Regions from separate parts of the Homo sapiens genome. Here region 2 is linked to region 1. Evidence: promoter capture Hi-C in 16 types of primary human blood cells and fetal thymus (Javierre and others, 2016). All regions are on one chromosome and are shown on one strand. Each heading gives the region's core, a stretch centred on a gene start or on the middle of the fragment in contact. The rest is flanking DNA. Distances are from core to core; before and after follow the strand shown. Region 1 holds the start of RPL23A (ribosomal protein L23a). Region 2 has its middle 3.7 kb from the start of EIF1.

The links. The method cuts DNA at HindIII sites, captures the fragments that hold promoters and counts their contacts. A CHiCAGO score of 5 or more calls a contact.
Region 2: a fragment that was not itself captured here is called in contact with the fragment with the promoter of RPL23A in region 1 in 1 of 17 cell types (fetal thymus); the score reaches 7.3 in fetal thymus.

Annotation. Positions count from the first base shown.
Region 1 is chr17:28,718,680-28,722,375 of GRCh38, forward strand. It overlaps RPL23A (ribosomal protein L23a), which reads left to right and starts at 1,306. Exons shown (of 5, transcript NM_000984.6): 1 at 1,306-1,351; 2 at 2,028-2,211. The coding sequence starts at 1,327. It overlaps SNORD42B (small nucleolar RNA, C/D box 42B), which reads left to right and starts at 1,871; the gene lies at 1,871-1,937. RefSeq lists enhancers at 1-562, 563-1,164, 821-870, 1,301-1,520, 1,861-2,020. The HindIII fragment of the contact is 1,784 bases long and covers 1,131-2,914 here.
Region 2 is chr17:41,683,531-41,686,890 of GRCh38, forward strand. No RefSeq gene overlaps it. Among named protein-coding and RNA genes, the nearest start is that of EIF1, 3.7 kb to the right of the region's middle. The HindIII fragment of the contact is 6,365 bases long and covers 1-3,360 here.

The DNA of each region.
Region 1 (3,696 bases), core at 56-2,555:
TGAAGGGAGAGGGAAGAAGAAAGGATCAAGTGGGGATGGGTTAGGCACACACCTTAGGAGAAGCGAACCTGAGTGTTAAGAAACCTTTCTCTGTGTCTGGAGCTGAATTTGAGGATGTAAAGATGACCAGGACACGGAAGGGAAGACTAGTTTAGGGCAGGGGATTGTGAGTGAAGTTACTAACCGGAAAAACTAGCGAATCTTGGAGAAATGTGTGGAATTTTCATAGAACTTCAAATGCATTATCAGGAAACGCAGTAAAACTTGACAGTATCAGTGTCGCAGGTAAAGAGGGGCAGGTGTGGCCGCCTTGTACTTCCTCTGACACTTCCCCCTCGTGACTCGATTATTTATTTATTTATTTATTTATTTATTTTGAGACAGGGTCTCACTCTGCCACCCAGGCTGGAATGGCTCATTGCAGCCTCGACCTCCAGGGCTGAAGCGATCCTCCCACCTCAGCCTCCCAAGGAACTGGGACTACAGGCACGCACCACCACGCCCGGCTAATTTTTGTATTCTTTTGTAGAGACAGGGTTTCGCCGTGTTGCCCAGGGTGGTCTCGAACTCCTGGGCTCGAAGCAATTCGTCCACCTCGGCCTCACAAAGTGCTGGGATTACAGGCGTGAGTCACCGCGCCCGGCCCTGACTTGATTTTTTTCTGCCACCAAATCACTGTGTTATTGATAAACCACATTCCTCTCTGGACCTCAGTTCGACCGAGCAAATCCTGCTCCAGCACTCTAGAACTTAGCTGTATCTAACTCCCGAGTCAATCCAAATGTGTTCTTTCCTCTTGGCAGCGTTCCTGCCTCCTGGCATGGCAATCCTCTTCCCTGAGACTGGCAGTTGCTCAAGATAGGAAGCTCCCGGGACCAGACCCGAGCGCCAGCCGGCTACGCCGTCCGCTGGCCTGAGCAAATAAACGCGTGTCTTCAAAAAACTACAATCCCCATGGTGGCACGCGCCTGTAGTCCCAGCTACTCTGGTGGCTGAGGCAGGAGAATGGCGTAAACCCGGGAGGCGGAGCTTACAGTGAGCCGAGATCGCGCCACTGCACTCCAGCCTGGGCGACAGAGCGCTCAAAAAAAAAACAAAAAACAAAAAACAAAAAACTACAACCCCCATGAAGCTTTAGTGCCTTTGAGGGGAGGAGTGGCGCATGTTTGTTCACGCACGAAAAAGAAATTAAACCTAACTACCGTTCCCAGAGGGCGCCGCTCTGCAAATTACCCAATCAGCTCTAAGTACAAAGCATCGCGAGTCTTTAGTGCTCTTTGGCGCTATAAGCCCGTGGGAACGAGCATTGGAGACCCTTTTCACAAGATGGCGCCGAAAGCGAAGAAGGAAGGTGTGTGTTGGTGATGGGGCCGCAGCTGGTTTACCGGGGATTGCCGCGCCGCAGAGCGAACGAATTGGGAACACGGCTGCTGGGCTAAGCCCTGAGGGCTCTGCTCCGGGGCTGCTCCCTGCGTTTCGGACACGCTGCAGTATACGTGGGCCGCGTGGGCCCAGCCTCGTGGGCTGAGTTCCGGTAGAGGGAGTTGGGGGGGGGCAACGCGGCAGGCATCATCCGCCAGGGAGGGCCAGACATTCGGTTCTGGGAAGCTACATGCATCCACTGGTTGGAGCTCCATGTCCCCGGGCCTGTAAGGAATTAGTGCCCTCAGCTTTAACCATTTTCCTTCTGGTTCATGTTCAACCGGGCTACATTACCCGCCCCTCTCTCCGCAGCGTGGTTTTGCGATGGGGTATGTGTAAAATTCGTAGGACATTTTCTGGAAAGTATCAAGCGTTCATTCAGTGCTACTTTGTTTCATAGTCGTATCCCTGGAGTTACTTAGAGTTGGTCGCTTTCGCCTCTGGTATCGTGCATATGATGGAAAAGTTTTAATCTCCTGACACTTGTGATGTCTTCAAAGGAACCACTGATGCACCTGTGGCCAGGGTGGCCCACTGCAGTTCTTGGGGCCGGAAGTGACCGATTTCTAAATCCCGCACCCACGTTTTCTTTCCTTTTCTCCCAGCTCCTGCCCCTCCTAAAGCTGAAGCCAAAGCGAAGGCTTTAAAGGCCAAGAAGGCAGTGTTGAAAGGTGTCCACAGCCACAAAAAGAAGAAGATCCGCACGTCACCCACCTTCCGGCGGCCGAAGACACTGCGACTCCGGAGACAGCCCAAATATCCTCGGAAGAGCGCTCCCAGGAGAAACAAGTCAGTACTGCCCCCTGTACCCATGAAAAGATTTGGGTATTCTCCATTGGTAATTTGGAAATTCACTCACTCTGCGTGATGGTTTCTCAAACGCAAATTGTGTCCAGTGTGCTTCTCTAATTGGAAGTATGAGGAGATTGTTTCTGCTGCATTTACAAAACTGGCAGGATCAGCCCAGAGGCCGGGCGCGGTGGCTCACGTCTGTAATCCCAGCACTTTGGGAGGCCGAGGGGGGGCGGATCACTTGAGGTCAGGGGTTCGAGACCAGCCTGAGTGACATGGAGAAACCCCGCGTCTATTAAAAATAGAAAATTCGCCGGGCATGGTGGCGCATGTCTGTAATCCCAGCTACTCGCGGGAGGCTGAGGCAGGAGAATCGCTTGAACCCGGGAGGTGGAGGTTGCGGTGAGCGGAGATCGTACCATTGCATTCCAGCCTGGGCAATAAGAGTGAAACTCTGTCTCAAAAAAAAAAAAACCCTGAGTCTCTCAAAATTTGTTAGGTTAATTATTGCTTCACATGTGGTCACGGTTTGAAAACTTATTTTGGGGGGAGTATAAAGTAGAATACAGAGATTCCTTGCTCATAGCTCCTACTGCTATCGGGAACAATCCTTGAGGGTGAGAACGTGGATTGATTCTTGATTGATAGTGGGGATTCCATTATCTGTATTTGGCAGTTATGGCCTGCTGCGGTGTATAGAAGCTTCTTTCCATTCATTTTCCCGAATTTTCATACTGCTCAAGGAACAGTTGGGGGGGAATGGGCAGAAGGTTGGGCACTTGAGTATTTGAGCTATCGGTAATAACTGACTTTTTAGGGAGCACAGATTTGAGTAGAGCCATGGTAGTAGTTAGTACCAATGGGTTTTTGCTGCTTCTACTCTTTCTTAACAGAAAAAGTGGATTGTGTTCATATAGGAAAGCAGTTCACAGACTGTCTTCCTGCCCCTCCCGCCACCAAGCTGGACCTAGAATCAAGTGTGACTTTAAATGGGGAAAGCTGTGTTACAGTTGTGCTTAAGCCACTGCTGTGGCTTAACCTCACCTATGCATAAGAATTTGCTCGTGGCTGGCCGGGCGCGGTGGCTCGAGCCTGTAATCCCAGCACTTTGGGAGGCTGAGGCGGGCGGATCACGAGGTCAGGAGATTGAGACCATCGTGGCTAACACGGTGAAACCCCGTCTCTACTAAAAATACAAAAAAAATTAGCCGGGCGTGGTGGCAGGCGCCGCTAGTCCCACTACTGAGTCCCAGGCTGAAGCAGGAGAATGGTGTGAACCCAGGAGGCGGAGCTTGCAGCGAGCCGAGATCCTGTCACTGCACTCCAGCCTGGGCGAAGCGAGACTCTGTCTCAAAAAAAAAAAAAAAAAAGGAATTTGCCCCTGGCCCGATTCTCCTGCCTCAGCCTCTTGAGTAGCTCGGACTACAGGCGTGCACCACCATGACCAGCTAATTTTTGTATTTTTAGTTGAGAGGGAGTTTC
Region 2 (3,360 bases), core at 702-3,201, about 13 Mb after region 1:
GGGACCTTCTATGTGCATGGGAGCGGGGGAGGGGGAACTATTCTAGTCACTTACATACGTGGGTCGTTAAGTCCCAAATAAGGAATGCAAGAAATGTGGCATTAATTGGACTTTCTTTAAATCAAGTGAGATCCTTGCCAATTAACATCCCACTGGGCTGCTCAGAAATCCAGCCTTGGAAATGACAGGGGCTCCAGCCCTCCCCAGGATTCTCTCTCGCTCACAAGGTTTTCTAGAGCACCAGAGCTACAAGGAGCCCCTAGACCAGATCATCTATCTGCCTTGGTTACCATGGAGATGTCTATTTTCCCAGAGGGTGCAATCCCTTCCTGGAGGGAGATTCTGCTGCTTCCGTGCCACGTTGGTGGCCTTGGAGAATCTTATTGAGGTCGAGGGTCCCAAGGTGTCCTACACAGCCATGCCCTTGTCACATCCCAAGGAGATCACCATGGAGAGGTGCCCACCTCTGTCCCATCCTCATTCAGAGGGGCTCACTCCTGTCCCCTGCTGCTCTCGGAGGCTCTCTCTCTCCCTTCCCCTCTGGGAAACTGGTATAATCTATATAGTGGTTTCATAACTTTACATTTTTATCCGGCTGTACATAGTCTCCTCTTTAAATCCCCTCAACAGCCTATGAGAAGGGCATTATTGTCTCTGTCGTACAGAGGAGAAAATGCAGGCTGGGAGGGGCTAAGTCGCCCAGGCAACAAGATGGAGATGATATTCAGATACAGACACTCCAGAGCCTGTGCTTTGTACCCTGCCCTTGGCTGCCCAGGTGACAGCATCTCAAAGCCAGGAGCACACTAATAAAGAAGCCAGCATTAACAGCAGGCATGCATGCCACTTTCAAACTAATTACTCCTGCCTCCATGATTACTCCTCAGGCTCCTGGGGCTGGGGTAACCTCCCACACTGGAAGGTAGACTTCGGAAGACCCTTCTGGAAATGCTCCCAACTTGGGAAAACAGCGCTTCAGACTTCAGACCCAGGAAGAGATCACCCAGTGCTCCTTTTATGGGGCATACAACTGAAGCCAAGAGGTAAACCAGGTCACCCACAAAGCTGGTGGCAAGTCAAGAACTGAGTCTCAGGCCTGGTGCGGTGGCTCATGCTTGTAATCCCAGCACTTTGGGAGGCCGAGGTAAAGGATTACTTGAGCCTAGCAGTTCAAGACCAGCCTGGGCAACATAGTGAGACCTCATCTCTACCAAAAATTTAAAAAATTAGCTGGCTATGGTAGCACATGCCTGTAGTCCCAGCTACTCAGGAGGCTGAAACGGATCACTTGAGCCTAGGAGTTCAAGTCTGCAATAAGCTATAATGGCACCATTGCACTCCAGCCTAAGTGACAAAGCCAGACCCTGTCTCAAAAAAAAAAAAAAAAAAAGAACTGAGTCTTGGCCGGGTGTTGTGGCTCACACCTGTAATCCCAGCACTTTGGGAGGCCAAGGCGGGCGGATCATTTGAGGTCAGGAGTTCAAGACCAGCCTGGGCAATGTTGTAAAACCCCTTCTCTACCCAAAATACAAAAATTAGCTGGGCATGGTGGCACCTGCCCGTAATCTCAGTTACTTGGGAGGCTGAGGCAGAAGCATAGCTTGAACTCAGGAGGTGAAAGCTGTGGTGAGCCAAGATCGCACCACTTCACTACAGCCTGGACGACAAAGCGAGATTCTGTCTCAAAAAATATTTTAGTGTGACAAAATATTGCATGCACACTGGGAAGGACAGCTCCAATTCATTCATTCAAACTCTCTCCCAAAACCCTTTCCAGCAGAACAATGTCCGTCAGGGCAAAGTGTTGTGGGATGTCAGGGACTCCCAACAGAGGGACCCGCTGAAGCCATGGCAGAAGAACATAAATTGTGAAGATTTAATGGATATTTATTAGTTCCCCAAATTAATACTTTTATAATTTCTTACGCCTGTCTTTACTGCAATCTCTGAACATAAATTGTGAAGATTTCATGGACACTTATCACTTCCCCAATCAATACCCTTGGGATTTCCTATGCCTGTCTTTACTTTAATCTCTTAATCCTGTCATCATAAGCTGAGGAGGATGTATGTAGCCTCAGGACCGTGATGATTGCATTAACTGCACAAATTGTTTGTAGAGCTTGTGTGTTTGAACAATATGAAATCTGGGCACCTTGAAAAAAGAACAGGATAACAGCAATGTTCAGGGAACAAAGGAGATAACTTTAAACTCTGACTGCCCGTGAGCCGGGCAGAACAGAGCCATATTTCTCTTCTTTCAAAAGCAAATGGGAGAAATATCGCTGAATTCTTTTTCTCAGCAAGGAACATCCCTGAGAAAGAGGATGCGTCCCTGAGGGAGGCCTCTGAAATGGCCACTTTGGGGACAGCTGTCTTTTACGGTCATCGCTGAGGGATGAAATAAGCCCCGGTCTCCTGTAGCGCTCCCAGGCTTATTAGGACGAGGAAATTCCCGCCTAATAAATTTTGGTCAGACCGGTTGTCTGTTCTCAAACCCTGTCTCCTGATAAGATATCATCAATGACAATGTGTGTCTGAAACTTCATTAGCAATTTTAATTTCGCCCCGGTCCTGTGGTCCTGTGGTCTTGCCCTGCCTCCATTTGCCTTGTGATATCTTATTACCTTGTGAAGCACATGATCTCTGTGACCCACACCCTATTCGTACACTCCCTCCCCTTTTGAAAATCACTAATAAAAACTCGCTGGTTTTGCGGCTTGGGGGACATCATGGAACCTGCCGACATGTGATGTCTCCCCCGGACACCCAGCTTTAAAATTTCTCTCTTTTGTACTCTGTCCCTTTATTTCTCGGACCAGCCAACACTTAAGGAAAATAGAGAAGAACCTACGTGAAATGTCGGGGGTGAATTTTGCCTGATAGTAAAGGTTCCCAAGTTGGCTGACTGGGGCCTTAGCTTCTCAAAAGGGGAAGACCATGAGACTGGGATGCCCATGACCTAGCCATGGTTCCTCCTTCCTGATGTCAAGGAAACCAAACTATTAATCAAGTTTATTTAGTAAATATAGAATCAAAACAAAGTATCAGGCCAGGCACACTGGCTCCTGCCTGTAATCCCAGCACTTTAGGAGGCCAAGGCAGGGGGACTGCTTTAAGCAGTTGAGGCTGCAGTAAGCCATGATCATGCCACTGCATTCCAGCCAGTCTGGGTGACAGAGTGAGACCTTGTCTATATATATATATATATACACATACATATATATATACATATATACACAAATACACACACACACATATATACACACACTCATATACATATATATATATATACACACACATACACATATATATATCAGGTACACCTAGCATTTCCTCCCTCAGAGTTTTTCTGAGTTT